Linked DNA regions of Homo sapiens: regions 2, 3, 4 and 5 are each linked to region 1. The links are contacts of gene promoters, found by promoter capture Hi-C in blood cells and fetal thymus (Javierre and others, 2016). All regions are on one chromosome and are shown on one strand. Each heading gives the region's core, a stretch centred on a gene start or on the middle of the fragment in contact. The rest is flanking DNA. Distances are from core to core; before and after follow the strand shown. Region 1 holds the start of CCNH (cyclin H). Region 2 holds the start of SNORD138 (small nucleolar RNA, C/D box 138). Region 3 has its middle 19 kb from the start of SNORD138. Region 4 overlaps TMEM161B-DT (TMEM161B divergent transcript). Region 5 has its middle 14 kb from the start of COX7C.

Region 1 (4,758 bases), core at 574-3,073:
ACTAATTAATTGTAACTAAGGTGAATTTTTAAGACTTGAGTGGACAGGGAATTTAGAAGAGGTCAAATTTCACAAGCCAACTAAAGGACATTATATTTCATCACCACTGTAACTTACCACAACAGATCTTGGCATTGCTGGCTTAAACACCGAACAGAATTCCAATAACCTTTTCTCATAGTATTTGCAGAGTGTCATTTCTTCATGAGGCTCAAGAAAGACTGGATCATTCGGAAGAACCTTTAGATCAACAATTACAACACAAGTTCAATGAATTCAATGAATTAAACAATTGTAAAACATTTTTCTCTATCTAGATTAAATTTAGTTTATATATCCAACGAAGGGTATATATCACGCCTCATTTTCTTTATAGATTCGCTAATCATTACACAAAATAGCTGTAGGAAAATATTTAATAAACTAAAACTGTACCATCATTTCACGACTTTTCGGAATGTCAGCTAGACCTTTGCTTCATTAAAGTATAAACAATCATGACAGGCTGTGTGCACATGCTCACAGTTGTGATATCATTATTTATAAATTAAAAAGTAGACAGACTTTTTAAAATATGATTGGAAAGCTTCCAACATCCGTTTCTCGGTCAGTCATTACGTCACAAGTTGTAAAAAAACAGCAAATGTTTCAATAAATTTCTGTTATTTTAAGCTACCCAGTTTGTGGTGATTTTTTTAAGGCAGCCCTTAGGAAACTAATTCAGGTGCTAAAATCAGTGATATGAAATAGATGTGAATTAAAGGTAGAAAGTAAAGTAACTCAGTATCGGTAATTTGGAGGCACTGAACACTTGCTGGAGTGGAGCTTGCAGGAAAGATTAAACCAGTCCGAGAGCTGTAACAGAAGGAACTTGGCTAGCGGGCCATAGTCCAAACCATCTTCAGTCACTTGGTTTGTACTTGGTCTCTGGTCTCCCTCCCTCATCCAACCCATTCACCACGAGGTTGCTAGAGCGCTGTTTCCAGAACGGAAATCTGATAAGGTTAGCTTCCCATTTTAAATATTTCAAAGGTTCCTCATCCTTTCAGTGGAAATGTTAAACGCCTCACTTCCACTTACAAGTTCCCTTCCTACCCTCCCCAGCCATTCCTGCACAGGTACTCAACTTCGGCCACATACGACCACAAACACGTCCACGCACCATCTCTGTAACTTCTGACCTCCCTCCCACTCTGAACGGTGGTTCTGACTGCCTGGAACTTCCTTTCCCATTTTCTCCGCATTGGCTACTGGGAAAAACCTTCCCCAACATCATCTCTTGACAAGTGAACGGCTCTTGCCACGCACTACCTTAGCACACTACTTACTCTCTTCTTCACTACGTTACAAAGACTGGTTACTTGTCTGCCATTCGACGACGGGGATGGCGTTGTTCGTCTTTGTACCCACGGAACCTGGCAAGGTGCTCGCTTATTTTGATAGAAAAACGCACTCCGCGCCGCAGAGGCAGAGAAACGACGGAGCGAGATTGTCCTGGGAGCCAGAAGAGCTCCCGCAGCTGCTCAGAATTTAGTGACCGGGCAACTGGGCAACCGTTGGGAAAACCTCACCTTCCCGTTGGCCACGGCTTTGCATCTGAATTTGCGGTTGGCGTCAGCCCGCAGTCTTGCCAGCTGCTCCTCGCTGGAGAAGGTCCAGTGCCGCTTCTGACTACTGTTGTGGTACATTATGGAATCGTGACCAGGTCCAGAGGGTCTGCAGACGAGAACCCAAACGCATCAGCGTCCTGGCGTAAAACACCCGTACCCCCACCGAAGATCTCGCGGAAGCCTAGGGCGTCCGGCTAGCCGGCGCTGGCGCGCTGTCGTCACGATTACGCGGCCAGCCCGTACGCAGTTGCATTTCCGGAGCGGACTAGGAACAGACCGTATCCCGGGTTCGTTAGGGCGCCCACTGAGACGTAAGTGGGCGGAGCCTAGAGAACGCTCCTCTCGGTGAGTCTGGGACATAGCTCCGCCCCTTCCAGGCAAGATTTAAAGGAGAAGCGCCCGGCAAGAGTGTTCAAGGGGCATAAACTGAGGGTACGGAGTAGGCAGATGTAAATTCACAGGGGATAATCAGAAATGAGGAAAGGATTTCGTAGGGTGCTCATTTTTAAATAGAGGCCTCACTGAAGTTGACATTTGTGAAAAGGCTTGAAAGAGTTGAAATAGTAGGTTGATCAATCATGTAGGGAGATCACGGGGCCCAGAAAGAATAGGTAAGATCTTCAGGCAGAAGCATTCCTAGCCCTTTTCAGGAAGAGTTTGGAGACCAGTATTCTTGAAGCACTACCAGAAATCTCGGAGAATGGAACATGGCTGAAAAACTTGAAGCAGTGGATGCGTATTGGCCCTTACAGTTCTGCCACTTTTGTTGCCTTGTCTGTTCTTTCTCTGTGCTTTTTTTCCTTACCCTTCTGTTGATAACTAGCCAATCCTCTCCCTCTGTTTTCATCTCTGAAGCCAGGATGTATGGTAGTATTCGTTTTATTGAGATTCCCATTTTCATTGCCTCTAGGGAGCCTTACAGTAAGCTATCATGAAAATTAAGGTATTTACTATTTTTTAAATTAATAGGACTTTCAAAATTGCAGGTGAGGTTCAAAATTTACATGGATTCTGGTTTGTCCCATTTAGGCATACCTTATTCTCTCATGTATTTATTATATATCCAATCCGAAAAATGGATTTCCCTATGGCAAATAGCTTTTCTAAAAAATAAATAAATAAATAAAAAGAAAGAGAAAGATGATGAGACCTAGAGAATTTAGGTCTTGAAAAGCCCACACAGGTAAAAAGAAGAAGTGGCAGGATGACTTTAACTCTGCTTTCTATTAAAATGTTTTTAGGGGCTTAAGAAAGGGAAAGCCTTTTCTTTTTCATTTTTGTTGGGTACAGCTGAGGTTAGAGTTTGCCACAGTTATCTGAATTCCTCAAACTTATGCCATTTGTGGTATATAATTTTGGAGAGCCACACACTCAACATATGTGGCTAACCTGGTCTCATAAATTGGCTAAGAAAAGAGAGAAAAAGAGAAGATCAAAGGGCATGGCAAATTGATTACAATGAATTGTGAACAACCTAAAATGTTGCATGTTGGGGAAAGAATAATTTAAAAGAGAAAAACATAATGGTACAAAAGATAGGAAAATAAGTGATCTAGATAATTAAATGTCTATATAAAGTCTTAGCCTCATGACTGTTATATATATCATATAAATTCTTTTCATTTTGTTTTTCTGAAAGATATTTGACAACTCCTTAGTTTTATGTAAAGGATAATAAAAATAGGCATTTAAAAGAGTTGGCAGACTGTGATTTCCACAGAGATATGAGTAAAATTTCTGAATGTCATTTAGGAAAAATATATGAAAAACCTGGCATTGCTGGTGTAATTTTTTTTAAACCTTGAACAAATTTTAGTCCATGAAAATTGACATTGATCTTATTTTTCAGATGTAGTAGGAATTGGGCTCTGTCTAAATTAACTGTCTGAGGAATACAATTGTTGCTGATGCCCTAACATTAAGGCTCATGTATGGTTTTTCTTACTAAGGTAAGCAGACTGGATGCTGTGACAGTCTCCTACTCAGCCTGTTGTGCGACAGTGTTTCTTTGCTATTGCTACCACAGGAGGCACACTGGAATGCAGAACTTGTGCCTTTACCTATTTCCATTTCTAGTTTCAACTAAAAAGTAGCAAGTGTTTCTCTTCACTTCTATTATTTTTACTTATTTATTTATGGAGAATTTCAAATATAAAGAATACAGAGAAACATATTTCAAAAATTATCAATACATGGCCAGTTCCCTTCTACCCTCCACCCACACCTCCATTAGGTTTTTTTCTTCTTCTTCTTCTTCTTTTTTGAGACAAAGTCTTGCTCTGTCACCCAGACTGGAGTGCAGTGGCACAATCTTCGCTCACTGCAACCTCCGCCTCCTGGGTTAAAGCCATTCTCCAGCCTCAGCCTCCTGAGTAGCTGGGACTACAGGCTCATGCCACCATGCCCAGCTAATTTTTGTATTTTTAGTAGAGATGGGGTTTCACCATGTTGGCCAGGCTGGTCTAGAACTTGTGGCCTCAAGTGATCCGCCTGCCTGGGCCTCCCAACTCCATTAGTTTTAAATCACAATGTCCCTGCTACTAAATGAAGATATTTCAAACAAGAACAAACCAACTAACCAGACAGAACCTATTCTTCCTAGAAGACATAGGGAAATTCACAGCTTGTTGACAAAGATATCACTATTTCATTAGACACTACTCAGAAGTGAAATGTTAAGAAATATTTCAATGACTTTTAAAAGTAAATACAATCTCTTTTATTGTGCTGCAGTTGTTAAATTGTGCTATGGTATGTACTTGTAGACAAATTCCAAATATTTTGACTTGCAGGCATTACCTGTAAACTAAGGGTTACCAATCAGAGATTAGGTGATGCCAAGCAGGTGTCATCTGTTTGGCCACCACAGAAATGTCCTGTACTTATCCACGTGCTATTCCAAAATTTCCCATAAGAGTATTAGGATTTCCTTTCTCTTGCTTCAGGACAGTCTTCCTTCTTTGCGGTCTACCTAGTGATCTTAATGTTTAGGGAAAAATAAAAGTAAAAAGGTCATATTGCCTGATCTTAGGAGAAAAGGAAGAAAAGGGGAATTAAAAGGTTGTGGGAGTGACCAGTAAATATGTTTGCAACTGAAATAATTTTGCAGTCTAATATAAAACATCTTATAAAGTGGCCAGATTAATTT
Region 2 (4,708 bases), core at 2,116-4,615, 790 kb before region 1:
TTTAGAAAGTGGTCACTGTGCTCCTAGTTTTTAAATTGGCTTACAATACTTGTTTAAGTTGTGAAAAATCCCTGAAGATAAAACCCTTCTAGTGCTCCTTGATACATAAGTCCCAGATAATTATGCAATTGTAAATCTGTGCCTCACCAACTCAGCCATGTTGGGAAACTCAAACTTTTAAATATACTTTCCTCATTAAGGCAGTGGTTCTTAAATGAGGATGATTTTACAACACAATGGGGCATTTGGCAATGTGAGACATTTTTGATCGTTCCAACTTGGGGGCAAAATTACCAGTGGTGCTGAGGTTGAGAAGCCTTGTGTCAAGGGGATATGTTAATATATGCTCAAAGGAGTCGTTCATATTGGAAGGTTAGCAGATTTGCTGTGTGTGGATAAAATATTTAGCTTAATTGTCATCAGAGTTTCTCAGAGTAATACTATAGAACACTAGGATGATTGGAAAGAGTGTCATAGTTTAGAGGGGGAATAACTTATCCAAGCTACTAATGCGGAAAGGTTGCGGTGCATGTGATGAAGCAAATCAGTATGAATGAATTCATGATACTGTAAACGCTTTCTGATGTACTACTCAAACTGATAGAAAATATTTTCATGAAACTACATGATTTCTGTTAAATGAATGGGATTTTTAAAATGCCATTAATTTCTGTTTTTATTTTGCAGATATGAAGAGCATTTTAAGAGGTGCAGCCTCTGGAAGTGGATCAAACTAGAACTCATATGCCATACTAGATATGTTTGTCAATAAACTTATGACGTGAATGCTTAATGCCTCTTTTTTGAAATAGGGAATGTAATAATTGGCCATTTGCCTACTTTATTATTTGGGTAACATTCCAGTATTACTCTCTGTGATTTAGCTTATTTAATGGTGTTAAACTGAGGTTATATTAAATTTTTGATTCCCAGGTCAGGATTTTGTTGGTAATTTATATAATAAAAGGGAAATACAAATCGATCTTAGGTTTATTTCTATGATTTTTTTTTTTATCGTTAACTTGGAAAAAATACTTTTGCTCTTGCCCTTTGACATAGTAAATTTTTTTTCCCATGATTGATTAATCATCAAGAAAACTTAATTTATTCAAATTGAAGTTGTGGTTAATCAGATATTTAGGAGCTTCATTTTTGTTTTTTTTCCTCTAGGTCTGTAACCTAAAACAGAAGTGTTTGCCTCAGTAAGTGTTTTGGTGACCAGTATTGGTCTTATTTAGAATGAATAAAAGAATATTTGAAATTGAATATAATACCATGAAATTTGTAGTATAGGAAGTACTCCCAATTTATTCTGGTGCTTTGACTATCATATAGCCTAGCAGAAATGGGATAAAAGGTAGTTCTGATTAGTAATTGTATATGTGAATCGAATTTATTTTGTAAGTAGTGAAATGCTGCTTGCCATTTAAAATGTAATGAGGTCATTACATTTTAGGACTTTGTGTAAGATGTGGGACAGTAACTAGCTACTGAGTATTTTCCTCTGCTCACTGTTGGAATACCAGTGATGTTAAAATGCTGTAAAACACTCCAAACTGGTAGTCTGTTTGGCCTCTAGACTTTGGTGAAAGGGTGATGCTCTTTTTAAATCAACATTTAAAAAACAGTATTTCCATAAAAGTGTATTTCTGGATTTTTGAAAAATTGTTCTGAGTGGTTCTATATCTCTTCATTGAAGAAAATAGCTGTGTAGGCCACTCCCCACTATATCATTAGATTTCTTATATGGCCCTTCTGTACAACTACTGATTTGCTAAAAACTTAACATTTTGATATTTTTGTTTCTCGACTACTGCCTCACTTTAGGCTCTTCAACAGTCACCTGACAACTGCTTAATTATGGTGCAACCTTAATTTATATGACTTTGCTCATATATCCCCTGTACTTGTATGTCATTGTTTTTTGATTATTCAGTGATAAATCAGGTATCCTGTATTGAGAGAGTTCCTTGTATGGAACATAAAGGTTTTTTATCTTTGGAAAAAGTTGAAGCGGCCAGGCATGATGGCTCATGCCTGTAATCCCAGCACTTTGGGAGGCCAAGGCGCACGGATCACGAGGTCAAGAGATCAAGACCATCCTGGCCAACATGGTGAAACCCCGTCTCTACTAAAAATACAAAAAAACTAGCTGGGAATGGTGGCATGTGCCTGTAGTACCAGCTACTCAGGAGGCTGAGGCAGGAGAATCACTTGAACCTGGGAGGCGGAGGTTGCATTGGGCTGCGAACATGCCATCGCACTCCAGCCTGGGTGATGGAGCGATACTCCGTCTCAAAGTAGAAGCAAGAGTAAGAGTTTAAGGTTCGTTAGATGATTTTGGTTTTCCTGGAAATTATGGTAAGGCTTACCTCACTGGATTGTTTTTGAGATCCAGTAAGTTATATAAAAACTTCTCACAAGTCCTAAATGAATATGAATTTTTTGGAGAGGATGTTCAAATATATATTAGGAATCAATAGTAACAGTTATGGGTAGCTAGGTCTAGCTAGAAAAGTATTTGAGGGATATATGTGAGTGAGAAAAAAACCTCCTCTGCCTGTCTTGTAATAGTACAGATTGTGCCATCCCCATAAAAAGCCTTCAGCAGGCTGGCTGTAAGTGCGTAAGTTTATTGTAAGTGGTAGAGGGTGTATAACTGCTTAGTTTCTGTGTTAGGGTTCTCTAGACAAGCAGATCAAGAGGATGCACATAGAAAAAATTAAAATTGTCATCTGATTCTGGAGGCTTGGGTTGAAAATATGGGTATGCCCGCGGGCTGGAGACTCGGCAAAGGCAGTCGCTGTCAGAATTCCTCCTTGCGGGAGGACCTCCTTGTGGTCAGTCTTTGTTCATTAAGATCTTCAACGAATTCAAGAAGCTTAGCCACATAAGGAGGATCAGCTTTACTCCAAGTCCACTGACTTAAATGGTAAACTCATGATAATTCAAGAAACACCTTCACAGAAATATCTAGAGGATTGTTGATCCAAATATTTGAGCACTGTGTCCTTGCCAAGTTGACACAAAATTAACCATAACAGTAGTTCAGTTTTCTATTTCCCTAAACTGGTTTTTAAAATTCAAGCCAATATTTAAAACCAGGAGGTCTCCATAAAAATCCAGATTCTCGGGGAAAAAAAAAAAAATTACACTGGATGAACCCACAAATGCCCATGTGAAACTAATCAGGACCAAGTAAAAAGTTTGTACCTTTTGCAGATGCTTCCCTAACTCACTAGAATACTGGAATAGGAATTTTGGTTAGAATCCAGGATTTGTTTTAAAGAGAAGTCACTATCACTGTTTCCGTAATTAAGTTATGGCCACAATGAAGGAAGTAATTCAAAATGTCTTAGGTTTTGCTGCAGAGACCATAGAGGTTAAGAATGTGGGCTCAGAACTAAGTCTTGGCTGGATTCAAAGCCAGGGTTGATAAATTCCTCGTCTTCGACAATCTGTACCTCCCTTTTATCTAATTTGGTGTAGTTGTGAAGATTAAAAATGAAAATAGAGGCCCAGCGCAGTGGCTCACACCTGTAATCCCAGCACTCAGAGGCCGAGGTGGGTGAATCACGAGGTCAGAAGTTCGAGACCAGCCTGGCCAACATGGTGAAACCCCATTTCTACTAAAAATACAAAAAAATAGTTGGGTGTAGTGGTGGGCGCCTACAATCCCAGCTACTTAGGAGGCCGAGACAGGAGAATTGCTTGAACCCAGGAGGCAGAGGTTGCAGTGACCCGAGGTCACACCACTGCACTCCAGCCTGGCAGACAGAGCAAGACTGTCTCAAAAAAGAAAACAGAAAAAAAAAAAAAGAAAATACACCTAAATTGAGGCAAATTTTCTTAAGCTTTTAGTGTAGAGTGCTTAATTGAAACAAGCGAGATGGGGGAAGTATAATGGGCATTGTGTAAGTCGTTAAAGTTGATCCCAGAGCAATTCTGCAATAGTTAATAGATTGGTCTGTGCTGTAGACACTGTGTCTTCAAAAGTGATGCCAGAATGATAGTGCTAAAATGCAAGTCATCATTTTACTCACTGTAAGACACCTCACCATGACAATGGTCACTTCCCTATAGTTTCAGCCTCATCCCAGCCATATCACACAGTTTTATGTACCACCTCCAAGTCTTAATTTAGCTCAGGTGCCACCTTTTCTATAAAGCCTTCCCTTTTTATTTTATTTTTTTAAGAGATAGGGTCTCGATTTGTCACCCAGGCTGGAGTACAGTGGCACAATCATAGCTGGCTGCCACCCTCCAGGGGATCCTCCTGCCTCAGCATCTGGAGTAGTTGTGGCTACAGGGGCTTGTCACCATCCCTGGCTAGTACTTTTTATTTTTTGAGGAGACTGAGTCTCACTGTATTGCCCAGGCTGGTCTCATACTCCTGGCCGCAATTACTCCTCCTTTGAGAGATTATAGGCATGTGCCACCAAACCCAGTCCCTTCCTGATTTAACACACTCCACATAAATCTCTAACACCCTGTAAACAGCCTTATAATTCAGCAGGTACTGTAATTACTGATTTCCTTATCTACCTTTCATACCAGCTTGTGATCTTTCTGAGCCCAGAGAGCCTTCTTTATTCATGTATCCTGCATCTATAATTTAGCTGGTGATCCATTAACACTCTATTCTATTAATCCTTTCAATAATCTGAAGCCAAGAATAAAAATTACCTAAAAACAAATTCTAGGCCTC
Region 3 (5,076 bases), core at 1,558-4,057, 770 kb before region 1:
TAATAATTAGCTAAGGTTTTAAGTTTCTATAAAATCATAATTTTTTATGTAATAAATACCTTTTTCTGGCAGTGTCCCAGACATTGTTTTGATTTTCAAAACACTAAAAAAAGTTATAAGATAATAGGAGACTTATCACACACACACAACTCCTATAGAATATACACTAAAGCACTTATGCTCAAATTTACATAATTAAATTGATATATACTTTCCAGTAAGTTTCCTTGGAGAACTAAGCTAATTATCTTTTTGTGGTACTACCACCATCACGGTCTCAAAACATTTTTCTTTTTTGAACTTCTTTCTTTAAGATATTTCAGAGTCTATTTCTAAATCACACACACACACACACACACACACACACGCAAATTTGATCTCTTTAAGTTATTTCAGAGTCTATTTCTAAATCACACACACACACACACACACACACACACACACACACACACACGCAAATTTGGTCTCCCTACTTTACATTACCTTTATTTGAACTCAACCTGGTACTATGCAGTTTTTTTCTTGTAGAGTCTTCATGAACTCCTAAAATTCAAATCTGCTGCTACTTATGTTGAAGACTTGCCTCATTTACAAACTATTCAAAACACAGTTCTCATTGTGTTCAATGAGGACAGCAATTATGACTTTGTGCCTATAACTTCAACCTCATCCTCTTATACACTGCTTACTATAGAGCAGGTAATAAGTATCTGTTAAACAGCAACAACAAAAAAATGAAAGGGGCCAGGTGTGGTGGCTCATGCCTGTTATCCTAGCACTTTGAGAGGCTGAGGAGGGTGGATTGCTTGAGGTCAGGAGTTCAAGACCAGCCCTGGCAACATGGCAAAACCCTCAAAAAAATTAACTGGTCATGGTGGTGCGTGCCTGTAGCCCCAGGCACATGGGGGAGCTGAGGCAGGAGGATACCTTGAGCCCAGGAGATCGAGGCTACAGTGAGCTGAGATTGTGCCACTGCACTCTAGCCTGCGTGACAAAGTGAGAGACCCTGTCTCAGAAAAAATAAAATAAAATAAATAAATATAAGAAAAAGAAGAAGCACAGAAACTGAACGTACACATGAGATGGATACAATTAAGTATAAAAAGCTGTCACCTGAGAGTGTATGTTCATCAAAAAGAATGATCTCTTTCCTCTATGGTGGTGGCAATTCCTTATTTGCCATTTTAAAACTATTTCTATTACTGTTATAAATATCATTATATAGAAAAAATTCTAAGTGTAACGCTTAGCCAGACATTTGTTAGTGTGGCAGATTGTATTTATCCACATTTGGACACAGCAATATATATCCCATGTCACATTCTTACAATGTGATATTGATAACGCCTCCATTAAATGGTGCATCTATGTTCCCCCTTGAACCTGAGCAGAAATTTTTAACTCAATCCATCAATAATTGTGGTTAAAAAAAAAAGGTCATAAAAGATAATAAAGGTCTTAGCTTGCTCTCTTTCTCTCTTTGGGGGTCCGGAGTTAGCATGTAAGAAACCGGACTATCCTGAAGATTCCATGCTGGAGAAATCACACAGATCACAGAGATGGAGCAAGAGGCCCAAGCAGCCCCAGATGTTTCAGTCCCAGCTGTTTGAATTTTTGCAGATGATATACCAGTAAGGTGAGTAAAGAAACTTAGGAGCTGACTCAGCCACAGCCACATGACTGCAACCTCATGAGACACCTTGAGCAAAAACTTTATGGCTGAGCTTCTCCTGAATTCTTGACCCACAAAAACTGTGTATTAAATGATTATTGTTTTATTAAATTTTGAATTGATTTTGTACACAGCCATTATGAATGAAAGAACTTGCCTAAGCAAAAGGAATGACTGCCAAAGCTCTAAGATCTGGGCCACCATATGAGATAATGTAGATTTTACTGATTCAAAGAGCTAAACCCTTACCATTATTAATTTTCTAAAAATTTAGTGTTCTGAATTCAGTTTTCAAGTGCTGTCGCTTACATTTTCTCTTACAATTTGATTATGTAAGTTGTCTGTACTCATGCATGTGTGCACACACATGTATGTGTGTAAACCTGAAGGTAAACTGCAAATGAGTATATTTCTAAGAATATAAATTTGGGAGTACAGAAGTGCATAATATCCATAAAAGTTATAAGTTTCATGCAATTAAAATCAGACTTGTCTCTTTAATTTCTCAGGTATTTCAAAGTCCATTTTTGCAGCTTTGCAGTAAAATATACTTTGATGTTAGAATCTGCTTTTTAGTTCTTAAAAATAGATCAAGTTAATAGTTATTTCTATTTTGTATCAAATGGATACATTTTGTGTTCTACCCAAGGTTTCTCAGCCCACATACTCCATCAACATTTTCTTATATATATATTTTAAAACTGTTTCTGATGGGTTATTATCTAAGGGTGGGTTGGTAGAGATTTGATTTAATACATTTTCTTAACTCCAAAAATAATTTTTTCAAACTAAAAGAAGATACTGCCTTTGCTGATTTTAAGTTTATTACAGCAAAAATACCTTTTATATCAATATTTCACAGTCTATTTTTAAACCAATAATTATCAATAATCTAGCTAATTCTGTCATTAATTTCTTTATTACCTTGAAAGAAAGAGAAAATCCATACAGACTAAGCAACAAAAAATTCCATATTTAATGGAAAACATTTTGTTGCCAAGCGGGGAACCCAACTCAGCACTGAGTTTGAGCTATGAATTTTAGAAGATGATATAGGAGGTAGGTCTTTTAAAGCCAAACATATCTCTGTTTCATTCTGAAACGTATTCAAGAGTTGCAGACTAGCTGGCAAAGTGTGGGCTTGTCAATAAGGTAAAGGCTGAGTTGAAGGGAAGGTGGCTGCTTCTTTATAGATGGAGCACCCACCTGAAAACTGTGGTGTTCAGCTACCTCTGCTGCACATGTGAGGTGGCCAGCTCAGGATTATGACACAAGTTAGAGCTGTACCACTGTCAGCAAGTGAGGTAATGGTTTGCCAACCATATTAGATGTTAGTTACTCCGGTGTAATAGAGCAATTTGTGGACAGGAAACATGTTTCTCCTATTGTTTACATGAGGATCACTCTTAATATTGCAACAGCTATTGGTAAAGCCTGTTGTCATTACCCCGTATTTCTATCTACTGGCTGCTCTGTGCTTCCTACAATTTTGAATCCTGTTGGTAAACTAATAATGAGATATACTAGTCATTATATATGTAAAAAGTTAGAAATAGTGAAACCTAGATCTGATACTAAGAGTAGAGCTGCATCAAAGGAGAATTTAGCTCAAAAAAAAAATTCAAAATATTTTTGTAAAGAGGAGGGAGGGAGAATTGCTTTATTTAACTCCTTGTCTTTTATCAAGAAACTGCGTCAGCTCCCTTTCCAAACTAGACTGTGGCCTGACTGCTAGGACCACTCTAATCTTTTTATTCCATTTTGAGGAAAAAAAAATTTAATTCTTAGTTTCTGAGCTTCCAAAGCCTAGTTTCTGGATATTTAAGATAAATGTAATAGATCCTTCAAAGGTATATTTTCATTCTAAGAGCAATTTGTATGTTACCTGCTAGAACCAACATCCTTATTAGCTGCAACTCCTAGTTCCCATTTCTAAGAGTCCTTTTTTGTTGATGTGAATTCTCAGAACTTTTCTATTCTACCTTTCAAAGAAATGTTTCCATATTATTTAATGTTCAGAGGTAATCTGAATTTAATTTTCCTTTAGAAAATGTCAAGAAAATCTTAGATATTTTGTTATGTAGAGAAATACGGAAGGATCTGTAAGAGTAAATACAGAAAAAAATTTTCAAAAAGTAGATTAATTAGAAACTGGGAAAACAAGATTTATCAAAAAGAGAATTTTGAAAATATATCAGAAAAAGTCAAGAGGGGAAGGAAACTCAGATTTGATGGCCAATAATTAGTACCAATAATACTTCCTGCTTCCATTTCCTCAGTTTCCTTCTGCTTAGATCTAGTTATTCTGCAGATCAGGATTAAAATCAGAGATAAGTTAGGAGAATAAAGGAGACACAGAGAAATAGTTTAAGACGCTAAGAAAAGTAAAAAAAAAAAGGACCAGTGGCACACAGAATTATATACCAGATATCACAAAATTACAGTTTATTACTATAAAATAAAAAAATTTGGGAAAAAAATCAGAGTACAATGTGTATAAACTGAGGTTAAGCATCTATTATATGATGTGAATTGCCTGATTATATTCTTTGCCTTGCTTTTTGTTTTGTTTTGCTTTCAGTTTTTGGTTGGAATGTGCATCATTATTCACTTACTGATTTATAATGGCTTTTTGTCTTTTAAGGAAATAAGCCCTTTGTCTTTCGTACTATTTATGTAAAGGAGACTTAAGTGCTTATCTTAGAAAGAAATGGGGAAAATAAAGGTGAAACACTAGCTTCTATTATAAAGATAAAGAACTTATTGTTAACAGAAGATTCCTATGCTTCCAGTTTCCATTATCTTCTGTTTACTTCAGTTAATAATAAACTTTAAACGAAGATTTCCCTGCAATGCTGTTATGTTTGAAATTAAAACAATTAATTAAGTGGATTTAAAATTAAAGAAGACTTTGTTCTTAATTGGAAATCAATTGGCTTTGGATATATGAGAAACCAAATGGTAATGGGACACAATCAAAGTAAATTTAGATGATAAAACTTGTGTCTTCCCTTTCAGTCTGATAAAGAACAACATTAGGTGAAGATATGCCTGGAAAATACTGCACAGTTATAAAAAACTAACAGTAAAACCTCAAATTAAGCTACAACTAAAAGCATGTATTTTCAGAGCCACACTTCATAGCTTCTCTCCCCATCTGCATCACATCATTAAATCAGCACAGAGAACTTTAAAATACTATGGCAAGTAATTTAATAAGAATGACTCAATGTACCTGATCCAATTTTTCCGCTGGATAATAAAAAGGTGAATATGAGAGCATTCAAGATTTTATCCAGTCTCATGGTTTTAAATACCATGTATAAGCTGAGGTCTCTCAAATCTTCATTTTCAATCTTCACATCTCCACTATGATCCAGACACATATACAGCTGAACGGTTGC
Region 4 (4,828 bases), core at 923-3,422, 870 kb after region 1:
TAATTAGGATATTGTAATACTGGCTTAGAGATGGAAAAATTGATTTATAAGGAATCCTGATTGTAAGGAATCTTGACTTATGTCAGAGATGGCATTGCATACCAGCAGGGAAAGCTAGATCATTTCAATAGATGACGCTGCATATTCATATGGGGGAAAAATGAAATTGGTCCTCCCTACCTAACACCATACAGAAAAAGTAGTTTCAGATGACTTTAAGATGTAAGTGTGAAAGGAAAACATAGTAAACCTTCAAAAGAAAGATTGCAAAATATTTTTATGATCTTATGGTAGGGAAATGTAATATGTATAAAGGAAAACATGTATGTCCAATATGTTAAAGTTAAAAACCTCTGTTCAAGACTCCATAAACCCTCAGAATAGCGGTTAATTTCAGTCATGCCCAGGAAACATACAAGATGAGCCTGGAATACCTTGTGCAAGATAGCAAGGAAGCTATTAGAGACTACGAGGGTGTCATATCAAATGGACTCAGGAGACAACTGAAAAGCATCCTTCTGGCCATAGATGAGACCATTTGAGTGTCAATAAGGACAGTAAATGCAATTGATTGGAACATATCAAGTGTCTTTAAATCTGAGTACATAATGATTGTAAAACAAACAGCATTTAGTTGGTCAACAGTAGAAGATGCTGTTGCATCAATTCATTATTTTGAAAATCAGTTTTGTTTTGTTTTTAAAGTAATTAGGCATTTGTCCTGCCTTTTGTATGTGAACTGTAAGTAACCACATAGTAGATGAGGAGAGGGTTCTCTTTGTACATGTATTCTAGCTAATAAATGGAGGAATGATAGAAAATTGCCATTTTGAAATTCCTAATGAACAAATGGATTTATTTATTGCATTTCAACAGCTGCTAACATGACAGACAAGAAAACATATGTTTCTTAATGGAAAAACACCACTACTGATGTTAAAATCTTATCAAAAATTTGACCCTGATACTAATCAGGTCTTTAGATCCATCCAATTTGCAGAAAATATAAACACCATTAAAACTTTAAGCCAATGAAACCTACCACAACGTAATATTTTGGAATGGAAAATATAAATGAAAAATCCAATTTTGGAGAATATTGGGACAAATTAATTTCAACAAATATGTTGCAGGAGAAAAGGAGACGAGAAGGACAAGTGGAGAAAACCGTAGATTACAAGAGACTTAGTTCAATATGAAGCAACCTGTGAACTTGGATTAGTTATCTTACTGTATAACAAATCACCCTAGCTTAAATCTAAAAATATTTATACACTTTCTTAGGATCCACAGGTGGTTTAGCTAGATGTTCTGGCCCAAGGTCTCATGAATTTGCAGTCAAGATGTTGGCTGGGCTGTAGTCTGAAAGTTTGACTGGTGTTAGAGGATCCACTTCCTAGAGGGCTCATTCGTAGAGCTGCCTGTGTTTTCTCACAACATGGCAACTGGCTTTCTCTAGAACAGGTGATCCAAGAGAGAGACAGAAACCATGATCATTCAGAGTGATGTAACATTACTTCTACTATATAATGTTAGTCACACAGACATTTCCCTGACAATATGTGGGAGGAGATTACACAAGAGCATGAATACTGGGAAGCTAGCTGTCACAATTTGGCCCCAATGATTGATAGTTCTTGATTTGCAAAATATATTCATCCCCTCCAAAAGCTCTCCAAAGCTCTCATCCTATGACACCATTAGTTCAAGGTCTAGAAATCTAAATCAGTTCCAATTGTGGATGACACTCATAGGTGTACTTAAGTACAGCTCCTCAAGAAGAGTTCTTTTTGATCTGAAGACTCATACACTAAAGACACAGTCTCTGCTTCCACATGTAATAGAAAATGAATAGGATAATAAATGTGGACATGTATATTTAAAAAGAGGGAATATTGGAGGTACATAGGTTCACAGAAATTCTGAAACCCACCTGGGCACAGATTGGCAGTTGCTTGGTCAAGTTTCAAGGCCTAGAATTCTCTTAGCTCTGCCTTCTGGGATCTTGGATCTACTCACTGAGTCACCCTTTCTTTTTCTTGTTTACACTTCTGCCTGCTTTCTGCCTATAGAAGCTTGGATGTCCCACAAGCTTCTTTCCATTTGGTTCTCTCTGTGCCTTTCAGTCCAGGCTGGCCATGTTTCTGCTAATAGACTTCTCTTAAAAACTTTGTGGCTCACTTGTGAATTTTGAGTTCACTCCATCAGACAAAAGCAACAACCACACATCTCGTCCCACATAAACTCTGCCTCAAGCTTTTGCTGATGAAAATACCCTTAAACTTTTTAAAAACCTGTGATGTTATTCAGAGATTTTCTGAGACACATCGTTTGTCTGATGAAAATACTCTGAGGCACAACTTAAGATCTTTCTGAGCTATTAAAGGACTTTATAACTACAGCCTCAACTTTATGTTTTACTGGCAGTGCCCTAGATTTGCTTTTTGCTCAGAGATATTCCCCAATTTTAGCACATTTGTCATCTGCACAGGCTGGGAATCTTCAAATCCAGCAAGTTTTGACTTGTTTTTGTTTGTTTGTTTGTAATAGAGTCTGTTTTTTGCTGTGTTGGCCAGGTGATCTTGGACTCCTGGCTTCAAGCATTCCTCCCACCTCAGCCTCCCAAAGTTCTGGGATTTTAGGTATAAGCCACCATGCCCAGCCATGGCTCCTTTTTGTTTAACAGTCCTTACTTTGATGGTCTCTCTTCTCACACATTTTACTATCAGCAACAAGAAAAAATACACATGAAATATTTAACACTTGGCCGGCAATCTCCTTTGCTAGATCAATGAGTTAATTAGGCATTTTTTCTACTTTGTACATATCTGTGGATAACAAATTTGCTAAACTTTCTGCCATTATGTAACAAGGATCTCCTTCCCTCTAGTTTCCAAGAAGAGTTTTCTAATCTGTTAAGATGTCACCTGCAGCCTCCTCAAAGGTTATCTATTATGCTTCTATAAAAAATTTCTTCAAAGCTCTTCAAACTTTCATTAACACTCTCCTCCAAGTTCTACCTTCTGTTCACTGCCAGTTTTAAAACCACACTTACATTTTAGGTTTTTGCTAACACCCCACTTCTGAGTACCAAAATGTATACTGATTTTCTATTGCTGCATAATAAACTGCCCCAAAATACAACATGCAAAGCAATAAATATTCATTATCTCATGTAGTGTCTGAAGGTCAAAAATCCGGAAGCAGCATAGCTGAGTGGTTCTGATTCATTGTCTCTTGTGAAGTTATCAGTCAAACCATCAGCTGAGACTGTAATCATCTGATGTTTTAACTAGTACCAGAGGATACACTTTCACATGCTATTGGCAGGACACTTTAGTTCTTCACTAGCTGTTTAGCAGAATACCGCACTTCCTCACCACATGTACCTCTTCATAGAGCTTCCTGGCTTCCTCTAAAACAAGTAATCCAAGAGAGAAGCAGAAGCCACCATGGTTTTTTATGCCGTTGTTGACCTAGCCCCCAAAGTGACATATTATTACACAGATATGTAGCCAACCTGTGGGTCACTGATACGGTTTGGATGTGTGTCCCCTCCAAATCTCATGTTGAAATGTGATTCTCAGTGTTGGAAGTGGGGCTGGTGATAGGTGTTTGGTTCATGAGGGTAGATCCCTTATGAATGGCTTGGTGCTGTCTTTGTGGCAATAAGTGAGTTCTCACTATCTGAGTTCACACAAGAGCTGGTTGTTTAAAAGAGCCTGTCATCTCTTTTGCTCCCTTTCTCACCATGTGATATGCTGCTCCCCTTCTCTTCTGCCATGAAGAAAAGCTTCCTGAGGCCTTCACCAGAAGCAGATGCTGGTGCCGTGCTTCTACAGCCTGCAGAACTGTGAGCCAAATAAAGTTCTTTCCTTTATAAATTACCCAGCGTCAGGTATTGTTTTATAGCAATGCAGAACAGACTAACACAGACACACACACCAACCAAGTACAGTATGAGAAGGGATTATTGGGTGCCATTTTGGAGGTTGTCTACCACAGGATTTTATCTGTATCATTATTCAAATTTCGTTTTTGAAAAATTTTGTAAGGGCACATTTATAGAAATATGAATGCTTAATATTTGATGATATTAGGGAATTAAACCATTTTTGTGTGATAGTAATTTTTAAAGATTCCTTATCTTTTAGAAATACATATTGAAATATTTAGAGATGTAGTGATATAATGTCTGGGGTATGCTTCAAGATAAGAGTTGCAGAAAGTGGGTGGTAGTATAAATCAAGATTGGTTATGAGTTGAGAATTTTTGAGTAATAGGTATATGGGGACTAAGTATTCTATTCTTCATACTTTTACATGCCGTAAATCCCCACTTATCTGCAGGGAATGTGTTCCAAGACCCCCAGTGGATGCCTGAAACTGAGAATAGTACTGGACCCTGTATATACTGTGTTTTTTCTTTCCTTATTGAGAACTTTTATGTTTTCACTTAAAGGAAGGACTTTACAGCTTCTCTTTCGCATATCCAAATTGCCAGCATCACCGCTCTTGCACTCCAAGCCATTATTAAGTAAAGTAAAGAACACAAACACTGTGATACTGCTACACTTGATCTGATAACCAAGAAGTCTACTAAGTGACTAACAGGTGGGTAGCATATACAGCATAGATACACTGGACAAAGGGAGGACTCACATCCTGGGCAAGATGGAGCAGAATGGCAGAGTTCATCATGCTGCTCAAAATGATGTGCAATTTAAAACTAATGAATTATTTCTGGAATTTTTCAGTTAATATTTTTGGACATGAGGTGACTGCAGTTAACTAAAACCATGGAAAGCAAACCCATAGATAAAGGGATA
Region 5 (4,729 bases), core at 1,441-3,940, 810 kb before region 1:
ACCTCATGCTCCCCCTCATCTGCGGGAACTAAGAAACTTAATCTGAAGGACATAGAGAATAGAATGGTAGATAATAGAGGCATCGGAGGATGTGAGGGCGGGAGAGGGAAATGAAGAGAAGTTGGTGAAATGGTACTCACAGTTAGATAGAAGGAAAAAATTCTAACATTCAGTAGTTGACTAGGATGACTATAGTTAGCAATAATATATTCTACATTTCAAAATAGTGGAAGAAAGGACTTGAAGTGTTACCAACACGTAGAAATGATGAATACTTAAGCTTATAGATCACCCAAATACTCCAACCTTCTCATTATACCTTCTATGTATGTAAAAATTACTCACACGTACTCCATACATATGTAAAATATTGTGTCGTAATAAAAGAAAAAAAGTAACAATTTCACACTTAAAACATAGTATTTAATGTAAATTCAAATTGCCACATCATTCATTGTTTTCAGTGAACGGTCATTGATTGTCTTTATGCAGGGTACTTACGATAGATACATCAGTAATCAGATAAAAACCTAACCCCTGGCCCTCTGAGAGATTACATTCTAATAATGAATCAGCTTTTTAAAAAATATTTTGGACCTACCTACTTCATTGGCCAATCTAGACAATGAAGCAAAAAGAGAAAATTAATTAAAAAGTGGCATGGAGGAGGATACCTCCAAAGGGGATTATTATAGGGACATTTACTAATAGAACACTCTAAAGCATCAAATATTTCAATTAACCCTCATAACAAGTCCATAAAGTGGGTAACATTATTGTCCCCACTTGAAAGATAGGGAAATGTTATGCAACTAGCCCAAAGCTAAATATGGTAGATCTTGGATTGAACCCATGTCAGTCTGATTCCAGGTTATAGTGTGTTCCTTGGAGTGTGCAACTCTGGGGAAATGTGTAGGAGCAAGAAAACCACAGTAGAATTATGAGGATTTTTCAGCCACTGTAACAAAGCCCCAAGATTATATTTAACCACCGGATATTAAATTCCTGTGGAGTCACTCCATAATACTCCAGCAAGAAATTAGAAAGTCTCTGAAGAAAACAGTATGTCTTAAACCAAGCTATTTCCAATTTCCTCTCAAGCACACAGAAATCCCATATTTCTCAGACCCCTGTCTTCTAGGTAGTAGTGTGTGAATCGAGTAGAGGACTCCAAAGAGACCCTAGAAGATGATGGCACTTAAATTATCACGTGGAAGATCACATGCTTAACATCTGATTCAGATTATGACATGAGTGAGAAATAAATTGTGTTAAGCCACTAAATTTGGGGATTGTATGTTACATTAGCTAGCTTCAATTATGTTGTCTGGCCCAGGCTCCATAAAGCATAGAAGAGAAAACTTGATAAATTACACTGCAACAACTTTCTATGTGAGGAAATTTATGATTTATGATTTATTAGTTGATTTACATGTTAATATTATTCCAGAAAACATTTGACGTGCCAAAGAAAGACACACACTATATAACAAGATAAAATAGATTTTAAATTGAGAAGTAAAGTGAAGCAAAGGTGAATTTAGAAAAGAAGATACAGCCAGGAGTAGGGTACACAAAATACATTCATCGTTTCTACTGAAGATGGATCGCATATTTGGCTCTAAGTTTTCTAGGAACCTAAAGAGGAAATCACAGTGAAGTTCATTATTAACAGTACCCATAGGCAAACAGGCAAAAAAGCAAGTCAGCTACTCGGAAGAAGCCTGTTTATTCTAGTCTAAGACCAGAGAGAAATTTTTCCTATGGGTCCTCATAAAAATGACACTGTGAAGTGTATTGAACCACATCCTTAGGAAAAAAATCCTCACAGTAAATCCATAAATGAGTTTTATAAGTCTGTTATTTATAAAAATCCCTTAGCACAAGTAGGAAAGAAGATGGCCAAGCACAATTCAGGGATAATAATACAGTTTTCGAATGCTGTTCAATGAGGGATGTGAAGAGAACTGGTAATTAAACCTAACCCACTTTGTGTAATAGTTTTATAATTAGCTGACATGTTTAAAACAACTCTTTGTTGAATGCAGTCATAATTTACACAAAGGGCACAGATGTTATTATCAAGTAAATTCCATTTTTTCAAAATTATAAGTCCAAACTGAAAAGCCAAACACAGAAACTGTTATAACACAAATACCTTTTGATGGACTATATGTATTAGTTCATTCTCACACTGCTATAAGAACATACCCAAGACTGTGTAATTTATAAAGGAAAGAGGTTTAATTGACTCACAGTTCCGTAGGGCTGGGGAGGCCACAGGAAACTTACAATCATGGCAGAAAGAGAAGCAAACACATCCTTCTTCACATGGCAGCAGCAAGGAGAAGTGCAGAGTGAAGGGGGGGGGTAAAACCCCTTATAAAACCATCCGATCTCATGAGAACTCACTATCACGAGAACAGCGTGGAGGTAACCACCCCAATGATTCAGTTACCTCCCACAGGGTCCCTCCCACAACACGTGGGGATTATGGGAACTACAGTTCAAGATGAGATTTGCATGGGGACACAGCCAAACCGTATCACTATTTTAACAATGTAGTTGCCAACAAACACATTGTTTAGAGGATCAGAGTGCCTCTCTGTAGTCTCACCCGAATAATAGAAATACAGCAGCAGCTTACATACATTGATCAATAGTATTGGACCTGGTTATAAATCATGATTTTCAGGGAGTTACTTGCACAATTGTTTATATTCAACATATAGAATACAAGAACGTTAGTTCTACTCTCAAATCTCTCCTATATTTATTTTGCTCCTACTCTGGAAAAAGTCTTTCTTTTTAGAACAATGCATCAAATTTATTATAAAAAACCCTTCATCATTTAAATTATGTTTCCCTAAAAAGAATAAATGAAGCTACTTAATCATTTGGTATTCTAGTTATAAAACAAAGCACGAGATACCATAGTAATTTCTTTTTTCTTTTTTTTAAGAGTCTCACTCTGTCGCCCAGGCTGGAGTGCAGTGGCGTGAGATCTCGGCTCACTCCAACCTCCACCTCCCGGGTTCAAGCAATTCTCCTGCCTCAGTCTCCCCAGTAACTGGGACTACAGGCGTGTGCCACCACACCTGGCTAATTTCTTGTATTTTTTTTGTTTTGTTTTTAGTAGAGACTGGGTTTCACCATGTTAGCCAGGATGGTCCCGATCTCCTGACCTCGTGATCCGCCCGCCTCCGCCTCCCAAAGTGCTGGGATTACAGGCGTGAGCCACCGCATCCTGCCTGTATTTTTAGTAGAGATGGGGTTCCACCATCTTGGCCAGGCTGGTCTTGAACTCCTGACCTCATGATCCACCCACCTTGGTCTCACAAAGTGCTGGGATTACAGGCGTGAGCCGCCACACCCCGCCCTACTGTAGCAATTTAACAAGACCTGGTCAAAGCAGTAACAAAGTGTCACAGCAAGTTAAGCTAAAATGGAGATGGAATATAAATATAACGAGACTTGGTGATTTTCAAATTGAGAAATATTAGTTTCTGTGTTTATCTTATAAATATGTATCTACCCATACTTGGTAATTCTCAATGACAAATGGTTGTATTATGAGATGATTCAAGAAAAGTGAACCATTTTTAAACCTAAATTAAGGTAAGACAAATAAGTTGGAATGAAAAACACGAAACACTTTTAAGGGAAAAAATGGTATCCAAAGGTAACGAGACGTTTTTTCACTTTGTTTTTTGTCTGTTGTTTGGTTTAGCTTCTGATATTCTAAATCATTTCACCTTCTCATACTCTCTTGGTACAAACTAAGTCTTGTCAAATCTCCTTGGAGTGGATTTGATATTTGGAAATACCCAGAAGTTATTTTGGAGCCGAGACTGTTGAATAAAGCCATCCTGTAGCATATATATTTTGAAACACTTGGGGAAAAAATAACATTTTTAAAATGTATCGTATAATTGAACATACTTCATTCTCTGACAATTTCTGTCTCCTTGGACATTAATTTATGCAGTTGTGCTAGGTGACAAGCAGAGGTGGATCATAAGGAGGCACTTTTTAGATAAAAACCACAAAGCATTAAAAATAAAACATTAGGTGTTGAAGTGAAGCGGGGGTGGTTACCTCCATGCTGTTCTCGTCATAGTGAGTTCTCATGAGATCTGATGGCTTTATAAGGGGTTTTACCCCCTTTCACTCTGCACTTCTCCTTGCTGCTTCCATGTGAAGGACAAACACACAAAAGTAAAATAATATTTTAATCATTAATTGCCTGATACATTTCTATAAGACAGTTTCCTATAGTTTTTTGTTGCATACCTTTTGATCACCCCTTCATGTGACAATTTTGCAATATCATTTTCTATGGAGAGACTATAAAGAAGATCCATTATTTCTCCTAGCAAGATAGATCAGACTTGGAGCAGGGGAAAGCAAGAAAGAGCCCTGTGGGGATGGATTAAAAATTGAGGTATTGATGAAAGATGTGATTTCTTTTTCTTTTTTATTTTTCCTTTTTTGTTTTTTTTGGTTTTTTTTTTTGAGACAGAGTCTTGCTCTGTTGCCAGGCTGGAGTGCAGTGGCACGATCTCAGCTCACTGCAACCTCTGCCTCCTGGGTTAAAGCGATTCTCCTGCCTCAGTCTCCCAAGTAGCTGGGACTACAGGCGCGTGCCACCACACCCATCTAATTTTTGTATTTTCAGTAGAGACGGGTTTCACCATGTTGGCCAGGATGGTCTCTATCTCTTGACCTC

What was found. The method cuts DNA at HindIII sites, captures the fragments that hold promoters and counts their contacts. A CHiCAGO score of 5 or more calls a contact.
Region 2: a contact is called between a fragment that was not itself captured here and the fragment with the promoter of CCNH in region 1, in 9 of 17 cell types (total CD4 T cells, non-activated CD4 T cells, total CD8 T cells and 6 more). The highest score is 13.5, in total CD4 T cells.
Region 3: a contact is called between a fragment that was not itself captured here and the fragment with the promoter of CCNH in region 1, in 1 of 17 cell types (total CD4 T cells). The highest score is 6.3, in total CD4 T cells.
Region 4: a contact is called between a fragment that was not itself captured here and the fragment with the promoter of CCNH in region 1, in 2 of 17 cell types (total CD8 T cells and M2 macrophages). The highest score is 6.9, in total CD8 T cells.
Region 5: a contact is called between a fragment that was not itself captured here and the fragment with the promoter of CCNH in region 1, in 4 of 17 cell types (non-activated CD4 T cells, naive CD8 T cells, naive B cells and 1 more). The highest score is 6.4, in non-activated CD4 T cells.

What each region holds. Positions count from the first base shown.
Region 1 is chr5:87,411,107-87,415,864 of GRCh38, forward strand. CCNH (cyclin H) reads right to left here and starts at 1,824. Exons shown (of 9, transcript NM_001239.4): 1 at 1,572-1,824; 2 at 118-240. The coding sequence starts at 1,688. It overlaps LOC105379066 (a long non-coding RNA gene), which reads left to right and starts at 1,876. Exons shown (of 3, transcript XR_948543.1): 1 at 1,876-1,955. RefSeq lists enhancers at 1,451-1,580, 1,611-1,780. The HindIII fragment of the contact is 6,680 bases long and covers 585-4,758 here.
Region 2 is chr5:86,619,981-86,624,688 of GRCh38, forward strand. COX7C (cytochrome c oxidase subunit 7C) reads left to right here. Exons shown (of 3, transcript NM_001867.3): 3 at 688-982. SNORD138 (small nucleolar RNA, C/D box 138) reads left to right here and starts at 526; the gene lies at 526-588. The HindIII fragment of the contact is 973 bases long and covers 2,880-3,852 here.
Region 3 is chr5:86,636,837-86,641,912 of GRCh38, forward strand. No RefSeq gene overlaps it. Among named protein-coding and RNA genes, the nearest start is that of SNORD138, 19 kb to the left of the region's middle. The HindIII fragment of the contact is 6,938 bases long and covers 1-5,076 here.
Region 4 is chr5:88,278,254-88,283,081 of GRCh38, forward strand. All of the region lies in intron 2 of TMEM161B-DT (TMEM161B divergent transcript), which reads left to right. Among named protein-coding and RNA genes, the nearest start is that of TMEM161B-DT, 12 kb to the left of the region's middle. The HindIII fragment of the contact is 164 bases long and covers 2,091-2,254 here.
Region 5 is chr5:86,602,005-86,606,733 of GRCh38, forward strand. No RefSeq gene overlaps it. Among named protein-coding and RNA genes, the nearest start is that of COX7C, 14 kb to the right of the region's middle. The HindIII fragment of the contact is 4,825 bases long and covers 279-4,729 here.